Regions from separate parts of the Homo sapiens genome. Here regions 1, 3, 4 and 5 are each linked to region 2. The links are contacts of gene promoters, found by promoter capture Hi-C in blood cells and fetal thymus (Javierre and others, 2016). All regions are on one chromosome and are shown on one strand. Each heading gives the region's core, a stretch centred on a gene start or on the middle of the fragment in contact. The rest is flanking DNA. Distances are from core to core; before and after follow the strand shown.

Region 1 (2,700 bases), core at 31-2,530, 230 kb before region 2:
CAAATGCATCCTGAAGCCCCCGGACTCCTTTGAAAAACGCCTTCTTTTTCCTTTCTCCTCCTCTGTTCTCTCATCACTGATAGGTAATTGTGTCTCCATAGTATGGGACACTCCCCTCAGATGCATCCTCCAAACTGGAAAGAGTTAATTTCCCAAACCTTAAACTGGTGGGCTTAGGATTGGCCTCAAGGGAAGGGAACCCAGAAGCCCAACATGCTGGCAAAAGGTAAAGTTTTTTTGCCAGTCAGGCTTTTGGTCTCCCTCTCCCTGTGCAAACTGATAAAAGGCTTTGAAATTTTTGAGCTGTCCTTCCCCTTCCCCTTGTTTCGTTTTGATACATGTTTTCTAATAACCTAGTTTGTCTGTTCTTGCCTTCAGACCATCAAACTCCAAACAGTCATATAACTGGAGCCTGGGATGATGGTCCCTTCTGCTGGGAACCCTTAGATAGACCTCTGAGGGAGCTCTGACTGTCATTTCCCCAAAACAGCATCCCCTGTCAGCAGGAAGCAGTTAAGATCAGTCTTTGTCCTTTTCCTTAATCTAATGGCAGTTAGATGTACTTTTTTAGAGGTGGGAATGAGACAGCTAGGTGGGAGGGGGATCCCCAGAGAACCTCCAACCTCTCCAACTGGCCTGCTCACTGGAAAGAGCCACACAAGTTTGTGACTTTGCAGCTGGGAGGAGCCTGGCCCCTCCTCTTTCTGTGTGGAATCTGGGATTTGAATGGCCAGGTGGGAAGTGCTCTAGCAGGGACTCTGACCTAGCAAGAGTCCCTGTTTCCCCCTTTTCTTCCCTTTCCACCCAATAAAACCCTGTCTTACTCACCATTCGAATTGTCTGTGAGCCTGAATTTTTGTGGCTGTGAGACAAAAAACCCCATCTTTAGCTGAACTAAAGAAAAATACTGCAACAATAGGACCTATCATTTTGGGCTTTAATGGGGATTTAATGAGTAGCTTATATAAAGAGTTATACCTATAGTGCCTGCCACACATAAAAGTGTGTAAGTGCTTGTTAAATAAAAAGAAATTTAGTTCCGTGTAATAACTGTGCTGACCATTTTACATGCTATCACAAAGTCCTCCCATCCCTTTAAACATATCCTTTTCAATGTGATCTTGCAGGATCAGAATTCATCACCCCACTCAAAAGTAGGGTGAATCTCAGAGTCTGGGGCAATAGCTCACTCCTGTAATCCCAGCACTTTGGGAGGCTGAGGCAGGGGAAGGTTGCTCGAGCCCAGTAGTTCAAGTCCAGCCCGGGCAACATTAGGTAGACCCCATCTCTCAAAAAAAAATTCCTCAAAAAATTAGCCATGCGTGGTGGCATGCATCTGTGGTCTCAGCTACTTGGAAGGCTGACGTGGGAAGATTGTTTGGGCCTGGGAGGCAGAGGCTGCAGTGAGCTATGATTGTGCCATTGTATTCCAGCCTGGGTAACAGAACAAGACCCTATCGTAAAAAAAAAAATATTGGGTACATCTCAAATTTAACAAAACTAAAATCGACCCCTGAGGGTTACTCTTCTAACCTGCTCTTCCACAATTTCCCTGTGGGAAAGAGAGTTTCTGGGTTGCCAGTTGAGTTGGTCTCCTCTGTGTGAGACACCCATGGGAAGCCATGGGCAGCCTCTAAGGAGAAAAGTCTCCTTATTGCCTTCATGTCTTTATGCCCTGGGAGCATAACCACTCAGCGGCATTCCACAGGTTGGTCAGGGAGATTACACTCCCTTGAAGCAATGGAGTATAATCAAACATCTTGGCTCCTCCTGAAACCCACTTCCACCTGTTTCAGTCCTGGTAAGTTAAAGATCTTAAGTAGTTTAGACACACATCTTTGCTCAAGGAAATTCACAGAAACCACCACTGCTACACATCTTATCGAATGACTCACGAGTTCTCCTTCACTGATTAATCCTGTTCCTCATCCCTTCCTCCCCCTCCCATCTGCCCTAAGAACAAAGAGCTTGTAAGCCAATAAATTGCGTGAAGCCCAAGAGCTCTGGGCCGTGAGCAAGCCTCTGATGCTCTGGTCCCCTGAACCCGCCTTTTAAATGCTTATTCTGTCTCTTTCTAACTCCTTTGTGTCTGTCAGACTTGGGGTACCCACTGGGTGGTGTGGGGCTGGTTTCCCCAACATCTGGCACCCAACGTGGGGCTCCCCATAATCTCTACAAATAATCCAGTGAAGAAACGCCAGAGCGTGGAAAGTGGAGGACGACTGACAAAGGTTGCCCGAGTACGTTTTCACTTCAGGCTCTACGGGTAAGTAGGGTGCTCGGAGAATTCCAGGGTAACCTCAGGAAAATATGGGTCAGGCTGAAAGTAAGTTTGCAAATTACTTAAGCCTGGTGCAGCAGTTATTGTGCCACAGCGGGGTAATTGTGAGTACCCAAAATCTCACATCTTTGTTCCATCTCATAGAAAAGTATTCTCCTTTGTTCCCAGGATATGGAACCATGAATGTAAAAGATTGGGACAAGGTCGGATCAGACTTACAAGGAGCAAAACAAGAGGGTTACGATATTTCCTTCTCCACTTGGTCTGTGTGGCCAGCAATTAAAACAGCACTGGAGCCCTTCTACACTGAGGAGGAGGAGTTTCAGGATGACATACAAAAGTTTAATAATCATGAGTCTGATGATCAGCAAAGTGAACCATCACAGTCTAGTTTAAAAAAGGGGGAGAAACAGGAAGCT
Region 2 (2,702 bases), core at 157-2,656:
TGACACAGCACAGAGTTCCCGGCAGGCTGAAGCGTCTGAGGACACGATGAGGGGATATGTGACCCAGAGGGGAATGGGAGGACCAGCAGCACCCCCAGCTGTGGCTGAGGGGACAAGATGTGAGCCAAGATGCACCCTGGACGTGGGAGTCTGTAAGCTTCTCTGCCCAGCTCAGAGGCGCCAGCGCCAGAAGCAAGCAGCTCAACGGGTCTCACTGCGGGTCTGCCTGCTTGACCTTGGCGCTGACCTGCGGTCACTTCCCTTCTTGCAGAGGAGAAAGGTCTTTTCACCAAGAAGCCCGGCCCACCCCTCCGCCCCCTCCCCCCAAAAAAGGCTGCTTAGAAATTATTTCAGAATTATTTCAGCCCAAGGATTCTTGGGGGACGTTTCTTCAAGGTGAAGAGGGTCCACATCTCCCAGACCCCAATGCAGCGGAGTAAAGTAACAGGCTCCCTTCTCTTCACCAGCGCGCCTCTGGCCTCTGGGTGTCCCCCACCCCTCAGCACCCAGTGCCCAGGAGAGACGACGTCCTTGTCCCTCCTGGTCGGAACAGCTGCCTCAGGCTCGCTCCGCCGGCCAATTAGCCGGAGCCGTCACCACGGCAACGGCAGCTGGCGGGCCGGGTGGCTGGCGCGCCCCGGGCCGCCCTCCCCACGGCCCCTCCCCTGGGGTGGGGTGCCAAGGAGAGGGAGGGGGCAGGGGAGAAGAAAAGTCCGCCCCACCCCCCATTCCCTCCCCAAGAGGCAAGGGCGCGCGTTGCAGAGTACACATAGGACCCTCCATCCCGGGGTTTGGGGGTCCCCAGTCTCTCCTCCCGGGGCGCACCCCTGTTGCTGCACAGGTTGCCCGCGCACGGGCACCCTTTTTCTCGAAGCAAGTTTGTGGGAGCCTAGCCGTGGGCCCTCCCTTCCGCGCGCTCCCAGCCGGAGGGGGCGCGGCACCCCCTACCCGCACCCCGGACCTTGCCCCCAGCCTCAGCCCTACCTGGATGTACGCCATTTTCGCCCGCGCGCACTCACTCCGGCCCGGGCATGGCGCCGCCACGGCCACTTTGCCCTCGCCAACAGCGGAGGGGGAAGAAAGCAAAGGGGGAAAGGAAGAAAAAGGCAGCCGGTGGCCCCAGACGTGACTGGCGTGGCTGATGAGCGGCGCCCGCCCCTCCGCCGGCCGCCCCGTCCTTGCCTTTCCCTGCGTTCCGGCTCTCGGAATCGGGGCCGCCTCCCCGGTTCGGAGATATCGGGCGCCCAGGGCCCCCGCCTCGGCCTCCCTCGCTGTCCCGTGCTCCCCACCGAGGCGCTCCCCAGGCTGGAATAAGGCCGGGGCGCCTGGGCAAGCAGCCCGGGGCAGCTGCGGGGACTGCAGCGACCCCAGCGCAGGCGGGGCCGGAGACGCCGGGGCCGGAGCGCGCAGGAGGCGGGGGAGGGGATGGGAATGGGGAAGGGGGTGGGAGGGGGCGGTACACAGGTCAGCCCATCCTGCTGGCACGGGGGCTGGCACCTACCGAAAGCAGCGCCCCCGGGGCAGCCGTGGAGCCGAGGGGACACAGTGCAGCCTGCCATGAAGTCTGCAGCAGGGAGGGTCCTTCCCATCCAGCCCTCTCCCCAAACTGGGTTGGAAAAACTTTATTCCCGCCCCACCCGACGCGCCTAGCACGGTTGCGGTGAGGCTTGCAGAGGCTGCGTGGATGGGAGCCTCAAGTTAAGGTGGGCGTAGGGCGTCCCAAACGGAGGTGCTGCGTCCAGGGCTGCAGGGGGCGCGCGGAGAGAGCGGAGCGCCCCTTTACCCTAAACCTGCCGGAGTTGCGCCCTGGACGCAACAGGTCTAGCGCGGGGCGGCCCGGCAGCGCCACCCAGCGTCGTGCCCGGCCTCGTGCGCTCCTCTGCCCACGGGCAGGCGGCCGCCAGCGAGCGTGCGCCCCGGGGCGTGTCCACCGCCGCCCTCCTGCCTGTCCTCGTGGCTGGGGCGCCCTGGACCCAGAGGCCTCCATCAAACCTCCCAGCCCAAGGCCTCTGGCTCTCCACTCAGAGATTCGAGGTGGAACATTGCCCTCCGCTGGATTTCTTATTTTATTTTATTTTATTTTATTTTATTTTATTTTATTTTATTTTATTTTATTTTATTTTATTTTTGACACAGGGTGTCACTCTGTCACCCAGGCTGGAGTGCACTGGGGTAATCTTGGCTCACTGAAACCTCCGCCTCCCAGGTTCAAGGGATTCTCGTGTCTCAGCCTCCCGAGTAGCTGGGACTACAGGCACATGCCACCACGCCCACTAATTTTTGTATTTTTGGTAGAGAAAGGGTTTCACCATGTGGGCCAGGCTGGTCTCGAACTCCTGGCCTCAAGTGATCTGCCTGCCTCGGCCTCCCAAAGTGCTGGGATTAGGGGCGTGAGCCACTGCGCCGGGCCGGTTTTCTTTTTAATATGCCCAGTCATCTCCTGTTGCCGGACACCAGCTTATCAGCATTTTAATTTTAACCTCCCAGTGCCTCTTTTTCCTCAGTAAAAACAGGAGAAAATCTCCACCCTGCCTATCCTCCAGGGCTGATTTGTGGGAATAAATGAGAAAATGAATATGGGAGTAACAAAAGATGGATATTCAGATGCATATATTTTTTGTCTAAAAATCTAGCAGACCTATACATTTTTTAGTATGATATATTTAGTTTGTAGCATATAGCACGTAACGCATATTGAGTGC
Region 3 (2,700 bases), core at 86-2,585, 160 kb before region 2:
GGCAGAGCAGCCCTGAGGGCTGGTTACCCATGTTTATGATTATTTCTTGATTATATGCTAAATAAGGGGTGGATTATTAATCAGTTTTCTGGGAAAGGGGTGGGCAATTCCCAGAACTGAGGGTTCCTCCCCTTTTTAGACCATGTAGGGTAACTTCCTGATGTTGCCGTGACATCTGTCAACTGTCGTGACACTGGTGGGGGTGTAGCAGTGAGGATGACCAGAGGTCACTCTCGTCACTATCTTGGTTTTTGCCAGCTTCTTTACTGCAACCTGTTTTATCAGGAAGGTCTTTATGACCTGTATCTTGAAGCACATTTCTTTAGATCTGTCCCATACCCTATGGAGAACTACGCACAAGCTATTGATTCCTTCACAACTTGCCGTAAGAGTTCCAAGGCATGTGTGCCCAGAACACAGAGCTCTCAATTCTTACATCAAGTCCTGTGTTTGTCTCTTTAGTGATAGGCTCTTGGAAGTAAAATTATTGGGTCAGAAACCATTGAACATGTCCAGACTCCCAACAAAAACTCCCAAATTGCTTCCAAAGTTTCTCAAATCAGCCTTCCCAATAACAGTATATGAAGGTGTCTATTTCACTACAACACCTCCAACACCAAATGTTTTCTATCTTTTACATTTCTGAAGGAAGAATCATGTCATCCTGCTGATGTTTTGGTTCCCTGTATCTTATTATGGAGCTGGCCATGGTTACTGGCCATTTGGATTTTCTCTGAGCCACTTCTGAGCAGAGAGGGACACACAGCCCATATAATGACATTGGGGCCTCTGTATCACATTTTCAAATCTCCCCATGCTCCTAATGCCTATTGCAGGAAATGGAACAAGGTTGGTGCTCATTTGTATCTGCTGAAGGGCACTGAGTCTCTTTGCAGTCAGCAGTGGTCTTGCCAAGCTGTTCCTTGTGGTTGGAAGCACTCCAGCTTTAGAAATCACACAAAGCAAATTGCAAACAGTGAGTGGAATAAATATTTGAGCATTTCAGAGCCACGGTGGCTTTGATTGTTAAGCCAAGTGTCTTGCTGAGGGGCAAGAATCTGAGACTGACAGATCACAGGCTATGGAGGCCTTTGGTGGGTTGGACCCGCTGTGCTATTTGGCAAACCTGCCCCCAAAGACTCATTTGGAAGCTACAGAGCGAATAGTTCAAGGCTACTGCGGAAAGTGCTGCCTCATGGGGCATGTATTGGAAGTGACTTGCCGTGTGACTCATAGGCTTTTTGGCCTCAAGGAACTCAGAAGGGCGGCATCAGCTTACCCTGACCACCAGTCAGACTGCATCAAATCATGCCCTCCATGACAGCTAAAGTGCCCACCAGTCCCCCAGCCTGGCCCTGGAGACTGGTCCTGACCTGGTCTCTACCCTCCCTCCCAGCGCCATCTCCTATTGTTTCCGTTCCTGTGTATTGAGAACAATTGTTCCCACTTCTTTGGGTATGAGCATAAGTTTGAAATCAGAGAGCTCTGCGTTCAAGTTGTGGCTTCATTATTACATTCTGAGTGCCGAGTATGGTGCTTGTTATGTAGGAATGAGTCAATAAATAGTTTTATTTTTATTTTCTTATTAAAAACATTTTTTTAAAGAGATGAGGTCTCTCTATGTTGCCTAGGCTCGACTCAAACTTCTGGGCTCAAGTGATGCTCCTGCTTCAGCCTCCTGAGTAGCTGGGACTACAGGTGAGTGTCACTGCACCTGGATTACAAAAACAAGTCTTAAAACACATGACTCCTAGTCACTCAAAATGTGTTCCCTAGACCAGCAGCATAGGGATCACCTGGGAACTTCTTAGAAATGCAGGCTCTCAGGCCCTGGTCCAGACCTGCTGAACAGGAATCTGCATTTTCACAAGATCCCCAGGTGACTCTTATGCACATAAGAGTTTGAGGAACACTGACCTAATTCATAGAATTGGTCTGAAAACCAGTGACATCAGATGTGTAAGTGCCTGGCAAAGAGTTTGGTATATCATAGATGCTCAAATGACGAGTCATCTCTTTCTCTGTCTCTTCCACACTCCTGTCCTAGAATGCAAAATCTCTGAAGCCAGGGGCCCTGTCTCATTTCTCTTGAGACCATCAGCCAGATTTCACAGCTGACTCATAGTAGGTGCTTAGAAAATTTTTAAGTGCTGACAATTTGGCATAGTTTAGTCCAGTAATTTTTCAGGCTGCAGGTTGCAAACCATTAGTGGGTTGGGAAATGAATTTAGTGGACTTAGTGGATTTAAAAATAATTAGAGGAGGATTCTGGGAAGATGGCAGAGCAGGAAACATCAGGAATCCGTCTCCCTACCTAAATAACAATTGCACTGGCAGAATCTATTTGATGTAACTATTTTTGGCTGAGCACAATGGCTCACACCTGCAATGCCAGCACTTTTAGAGGCCGAGGTGGGTGAATCACTTGAGCTCAGGAGTTTGAGACCGGCCCACACTCTCTCTCTCTCTCCTGTCTCTCTGTCTCTCTCTCTCTCTCTCTCTCTCTCCTGTCTCTCTGTCTCTCCCTCTCTCTCAATCTCTCTCTCTCTCTCTCTATATATATATATTATATATATATATATATTTGTATTTGATGTAACTATTTTATAACACTGGCATCTATTTGAAGGATTGCAACTTCCAAGAGAAGGCTTGGATGGTAAATTGTGGTTAATTTCAGTCAATTTCAGCTGGTAGCAA
Region 4 (2,700 bases), core at 110-2,609, 140 kb before region 2:
GCTCAAGTGATCCTCTCTCCTCAGCTTCCCAAAGTGCTGGGATTACAGGCATGAGCCACTACACCTGGCCGACCACTTATATTTAAATACCTGTTTCCGATTCTCTTAGGTCGAGATCTAGGAGTGGAATTGCTGGCTTAGATGTAATTCTATGTTTAACTTTTTGAGGAACTGCCAAACTTTTCCACAGTGGCTTCACTATTTTACATTCCCACCAGCAATTTATGAGTTTGGTAATCTTTTTGTTTTCCTTTGAAGAACCAGCCTCATCTTTGAGCCCATGTGTTGACGGGAATATTTAAGATGTATTCTTGGCTAGGCGCAGTGGCTCATGCCTGTAATCCCAGTACTTTGGGAGGCTGAGGTGGGTGGATCCCTTGAGCCCAGGAGTTCGAAACCAGCTTGGATGACATGATGAAACCTCGTCTCTATTTAAAAAAAAAAATACAAAAGTTAGCTAGATGTGGTGGCATGCGCCTGTAGCGTCCTGTAGTCCCACCTACTCTGGGGACTGGAGGTGGAAGGATCACCTGAGCCCAGGAGGTTGAGGCTGCAGTGAGCTGTGATTGCATCATTGCACTTCAGCCTGGGCAACAGAGTGAGACTCTGTCTCAAAAAAAAAAATTACTCTCGTAGCAAATTTCAGGAATACAATACATTATTATTAACTATAGTCATCACGCTGTACATTAAGCCTCCCAAACTTATTAATCTTATTTCCAAAAGTTTGTATGCTTTGACCAACACCCCCCCGCATTTTCCCCCACTCCCAGCGCCTCTGATAATGTGACTTCCACCCCATTTTGTCCAAAGATGTACAGCTAAGCAGGAGCTAGCCACTTAGCATATGCCAAAGTGATTGCTTCAGGGATGGGCACGTGACCCGAGCCAGGCCAGTGAGATTCAACTCTGAATCAGAACAACCCCTGGATTTTTGTTACTTGGGTCAATTTAAAAAAAAAAACACTTTAAAAAATTAAGCCAATTTGAGCTGGCTTTCCTGACACTTGGCCAAGTGACCACCCTGTATAATTAAGATCTGCTTGTTTAAAATCTCTGTCCAAGAGATTTACTTCCTATGTATGTTTTACATGTATTCAATGTCAATTCTACACTGGTTACAGCTACAAGATGATACTAGAGTTGAGCTCACACCAGTAGGACAAGACAGGATCAATGAATGGTCAGAGATGGGATTTTGCAGACAAAGGGGAACTTCCGGCTGCAGGTGTTATCATTCCATGACCTCAGAGCTGTGATGGAAAGAAGCAGAGAATCTGGGTGAAAATCCATCCGCCAAGATAAAAGTAACCCCACCACTCCTCTGAAGTAAAAGCCATCTCCAATAGGCCTTGTGTCTATGCTGGCAGCCCTTTCTTGCTGATACTTGACAAGCCTGCTGTCCAGCCTTACTCTTGCATAAAGCTGATTCTGGCTTGTCACCTTGGATGGGAGGATGAACTTCAGCCAGAGGCTTGGCCCAACTCTGGCTACCCAGGGCTCCAGGAGGGCTCCCAGGAAAATAAGCTGTTCTCTACCTCCCTCCCCTAATTAGGAAAAGAAAAAAGAGCAAAGAGGGAATAACAATTAAGTGTCTGGGTCTGGAGTTCTGTAGATCTAGATTTGAAACCCAGCTCCACTACTTAGCTTGCTGTGTGACCTTGAACAAGTTGCTGAACTTCTCTGAGCCTCGTTTTCCTCATCAGCAAAGTGGGAATATTGTTTCTATTTCTTAACATTGGTGTGAAAGTGATGATTCATGATGATGCTGGTGATTGCTAATACTGAATACTGAGCATGGCAGCTATTCTATGAGCACTATCTTCTTTTTTTATTCACATTAACCTGTGAGTTAAGTATCATTAGCCACATTTTGAAGACAAAGAATCTGAGGCACCAAGAGGTTAAGGCATTCTCTTTGGGCTACACATTAAGGATGGAGCGGGGGTTCACACAAGGGCAGTCAACTCCCGAGTCCATGCTCTTGCCACGGTGCTATATCAACTGTGCCTCCTTTAATCCTCACAGCAGTCTTGTAGGTAGGACAAATTATTAAGCCCATTTTATAGAAGAAGAAACAGAATCTCAGAGAGGATAAGTAATTCTCTGCAATGACACAGAACTAGAAAGAAACAGGGCCAGAATTTGAATTCAAGTCTATACTCTTCTCACTACCCACACCCTCATGCCACCACACATGTGGCTTGCTTCAGGAGCATGAGTCTGTGGAAGGGGCTTGCACTTTGATGTGTTGTTGAGTTGACATGGAAGCATCACCCCTTGACTACTCTCTATACAAGTCTTTATTCCCCCCATGCTTCTATTTATAACATCTTTTCATTCAAGTTGGAGTTTATGTGTCAACCAAACCCCATTTAATGTTGTTTAAAGCATATCCATTGTGGCGAATGGCCATGCCCCCGACACCCTAGTGACCTCCACCGCTCTCCAAGGTGCTGAACAATTTGCCAGTCTCAGGCCATCAGGTGCTCCTCTTCCCCCAAGGCCCTTCTCCGCTCTCCCCACCTGTGACACCTCCTGGGCTCCCCTGCAAGAGCCTTGGTCTCAGGGGTACCCACCACTGGTAGGCCTGTACCATATCTGCACGCAGTCCTCTTCTTCTGGGTCCGCGTGGACGCCATCATCTGGCTGGCTGCCATCCCAGTAGCTGTAGTCATAGGATGAGCCATCAGTCCATTC
Region 5 (2,700 bases), core at 25-2,524, 180 kb before region 2:
TCCTGCCTCAGCCTCCCAAGTAGCTGGGACTACAGGCGTGTGCCACCACACCCAGCTAATTTTTGTATTTTTAGTAGAGATGGGGCTTCACCACGTTGGTCAGGCTGGTCTTGAACTGCTGACTTCAAGTGATCTGCTCGCCTTGACCTCCCAAAGTGCTGGCATTACAGGCGTGAGCCACCGCGCCCGGCCAAGAAGGAATATTATTGCATAATGATATTAACGCATATTGCAAGGCATAGGTATCTCTCATTTTGATTATCCATTCATCAGTTTATGGATATTTGGGTTGTTTTCACCTTCTGGCTATGAACATTTGTGGATAAGTTTTTGTTTAAATCCATGTTTTCAATTTTTTTGGCATATATGGTAATTCTGTGCTTAACTTATTGAGGAACTGCCACACGGTGACAGTCCCACAGTGCCTGCATAATTTTGCATTCCTACCAGCAGCATATGGGGGCTCCAATTTCCACACCCTTGTCAATACTTGTTCTTGTCCTTTAAAAAAATTATAGCCATCCTAGTGGGTGAGTAAAAGACTTTCTGTTGGCTGGGCTCAGTGGCTCATGCCTATAATCCCAACAGTTTGGGTGGCTGAGGCAGGCAGATTGCTTGAGTTCAGGAGTTCAAGACCAGCCTGGGCAACATGGTGAAAACCTGTCTCTACTAAAAATACAAAAAATTAGCCAGGTGTGGTGGTGCGTGCCTGTAGTCCCAGCTACTTGGGAGGCTGAGGTGGGAGGATTGCTTGAGCCCAGGAAGTTGAGGCTGCAGTGAGCTGTGATAGCACCATTGCACTCCAGCCTGAGCAACTGGAGTGAGACCCTGTCTCACAAAAACAAAAAACCTCAACTTTCTGTCTAAACTCTGTCTCCCCTGCCTTTCTCCCAATTTCTCAAAGAACTAATATAATTTTGCACAATAATTTTTTAAGCTATCTATGGTTTAGTCTATCAATTGTGATTCTTTTGGTTGCAAGTAACAGGAAACCAACTCAAACCAGGTCAAACAATAAAAGCCAGCTTCAGAGACACTTCTGGTGTGGTTTGATCAAGATTCCAGCTCTGTTTCACTGCAGTTCTTCTGGCACTGCCTTCTCCGTAAGTTGGATTCATCCACAAACTGGCTTTCTCCAGGGCTTTAAGGTAGCTATCAACAACAAACAAGGTTACAAGCTTCTTTATTCATATCTGAGGAGGGCGAGTCACTGCCCTTAATTGATGAATACAAATCCTAACTCCGTTGATTGGACCAGTCTTAAACCAATTCTCCTAATCGTGGATCACTGAGCTGATTCGCTTAGGCTAGGCCTGGGTTACTTGAACCAGTCAAGGGCAAGTCTGATGGAAATACCCTGATAAGCTTGGACCCATCAAGTCCCACCCTTGGATTTGAGATTTAGGTCAATTCCATCCACCACAGCTTTTAGACAATGAGGGAAAAGGAAAAAGGAAATCGATGTCCGCTCTATTGCTATTTGCTTTGTTAGAGGATTTGGTGAAAAGAAGTCCATTTGGTAGAATCTTTTTTCTTTTCTTTTCTTTCTTTCTTTTTTTTTTTCGAGATGGAGTCTCGCTCTGTTGCCTAGGCTGGAGTGCAGTGGCACGAATTCGGCTCACTGCAACCTCCACCTCCCAGGTTCAAGCAATTCTCCTGCCTCAGCCTCCTGAGTAGCTGGGACTACATATGCGTGCCACCACACCTGGCTAATTTTTTGTATTTTAAGTTGAGACGGAGTTTCACCGTGTTAGCCAGGATGGTCTCCATCTCCTGACCTTGTGATCCATCCGCCTCGGCCTCCCAAAGTGCTGGGATTACAGGCGTGAGCCACCACGCCTGGCCCATTTGGTAGAATCTTAATGTCCATCTGCTAGAGTTATGGTCAAATTGAAGTGGACTGGCGGCCTTTCTGTTATAATGATTCTAAATAGCATTATTAATACTTAGTGTCTTAAACCTTTATATATCTTAAAACTTATTTGTGGGTATTATCAGTATTCCCACTTTACCGATGAGGTTTGTAAGGTTGACAAATCTGAAAGATTCTATCACCTTGAACCAAGACGGGATATATGTGTGTTCTTTCTAGGCATATTCTGACAGCTCAGCAGAGTCGGCTAAGATGTGTGGGCACCTGGACAGGCTAATGTTGAGGTATCCTATTGAGTCTGGCGGTCAGGGTTAAAAACCTGGCCCCATCACCTACCAGGTGGTGACCTTGAGCAAGTTACTAGCACTTTGTGCCTCAGTACTTTGGCAATAACAAATAGTACCTACCTTGTAGAATTGTTAATGAAGATTACATCATTCATATACATGGTAAGAGCCCTGTTAATCTTTGTAAAAAAAAAGTCTTTGTAAAAAATAATGACACTTTTCTCTATCTGGTTACATTTCCAGGGATGTTTTAGCACCATCCTTGAGGTTTGGCACCTGCTGTTCCATCCCTTAATCCAGTTCAGGCTGCAACCTGGACCTTCTCCAACCCCCAGCCACTTTGCTAATCAATATCTTATCGCATCGCATCTCAGTCTGGGCTCTCCCAGACCAGGCAGGGAGCCCCTAGGTCCTGCCAGCCTGCTGCCACCGTCTGCATGGCTCTTAGCTGGGGAGACAGAAACCAAATCCTTCCCAAAGATGCTGGGAAATTAGTTTAGCACCGTCTGCCGGTGTGCGGTGACTCAGAGGCAGCCAGCC

Evidence for each region. Contacts are between HindIII fragments. The CHiCAGO score rates a contact against its expected background, and 5 or more counts as called.
Region 1: a contact is called between a fragment that was not itself captured here and the fragment with the promoter of SYT17 in region 2, in 3 of 17 cell types (M1 macrophages, M0 macrophages and naive B cells). The highest score is 6.6, in M1 macrophages.
Region 3: a contact is called between a fragment that was not itself captured here and the fragment with the promoter of SYT17 in region 2, in 5 of 17 cell types (M1 macrophages, M2 macrophages, monocytes and 2 more). The highest score is 10.3, in M1 macrophages.
Region 4: a fragment that was not itself captured here is called in contact with the fragment with the promoter of SYT17 in region 2 in 4 of 17 cell types (M1 macrophages, M0 macrophages, M2 macrophages and 1 more); the score reaches 6.0 in M1 macrophages.
Region 5: a fragment that was not itself captured here is called in contact with the fragment with the promoter of SYT17 in region 2 in 7 of 17 cell types (M1 macrophages, M0 macrophages, naive B cells and 4 more); the score reaches 21.0 in M1 macrophages.

Annotation. Positions count from the first base shown.
Region 1 is chr16:19,401,006-19,403,705 of GRCh38, reverse strand. No RefSeq gene overlaps it. Among named protein-coding and RNA genes, the nearest start is that of TMC5, 16 kb to the left of the region's middle. The HindIII fragment of the contact is 3,241 bases long and covers 1-2,700 here.
Region 2 is chr16:19,166,944-19,169,645 of GRCh38, reverse strand. It overlaps SYT17 (synaptotagmin 17), which reads right to left and starts at 1,406. Exons shown (of 8, transcript NM_016524.4): 1 at 985-1,406. The coding sequence starts at 999. RefSeq lists an enhancer at 822-1,569 and a silencer at 1,761-2,010. The HindIII fragment of the contact is 5,386 bases long and covers 160-2,702 here.
Region 3 is chr16:19,329,451-19,332,150 of GRCh38, reverse strand. No RefSeq gene overlaps it. Among named protein-coding and RNA genes, the nearest start is that of LINC02858, 3.4 kb to the left of the region's middle. The HindIII fragment of the contact is 9,542 bases long and covers 1-2,700 here.
Region 4 is chr16:19,307,557-19,310,256 of GRCh38, reverse strand. It overlaps CLEC19A (C-type lectin domain containing 19A), which reads right to left. Exons shown (of 5, transcript NM_001256720.2): 4 at 2,580-2,700; 5 at 1-1,253. The coding sequence ends at 1,174. Among named protein-coding and RNA genes, the nearest start is that of CLEC19A, 23 kb to the right of the region's middle. The HindIII fragment of the contact is 9,354 bases long and covers 1-2,700 here.
Region 5 is chr16:19,349,054-19,351,753 of GRCh38, reverse strand. No RefSeq gene overlaps it. Among named protein-coding and RNA genes, the nearest start is that of LINC02858, 16 kb to the right of the region's middle. The HindIII fragment of the contact is 187 bases long and covers 1,181-1,367 here.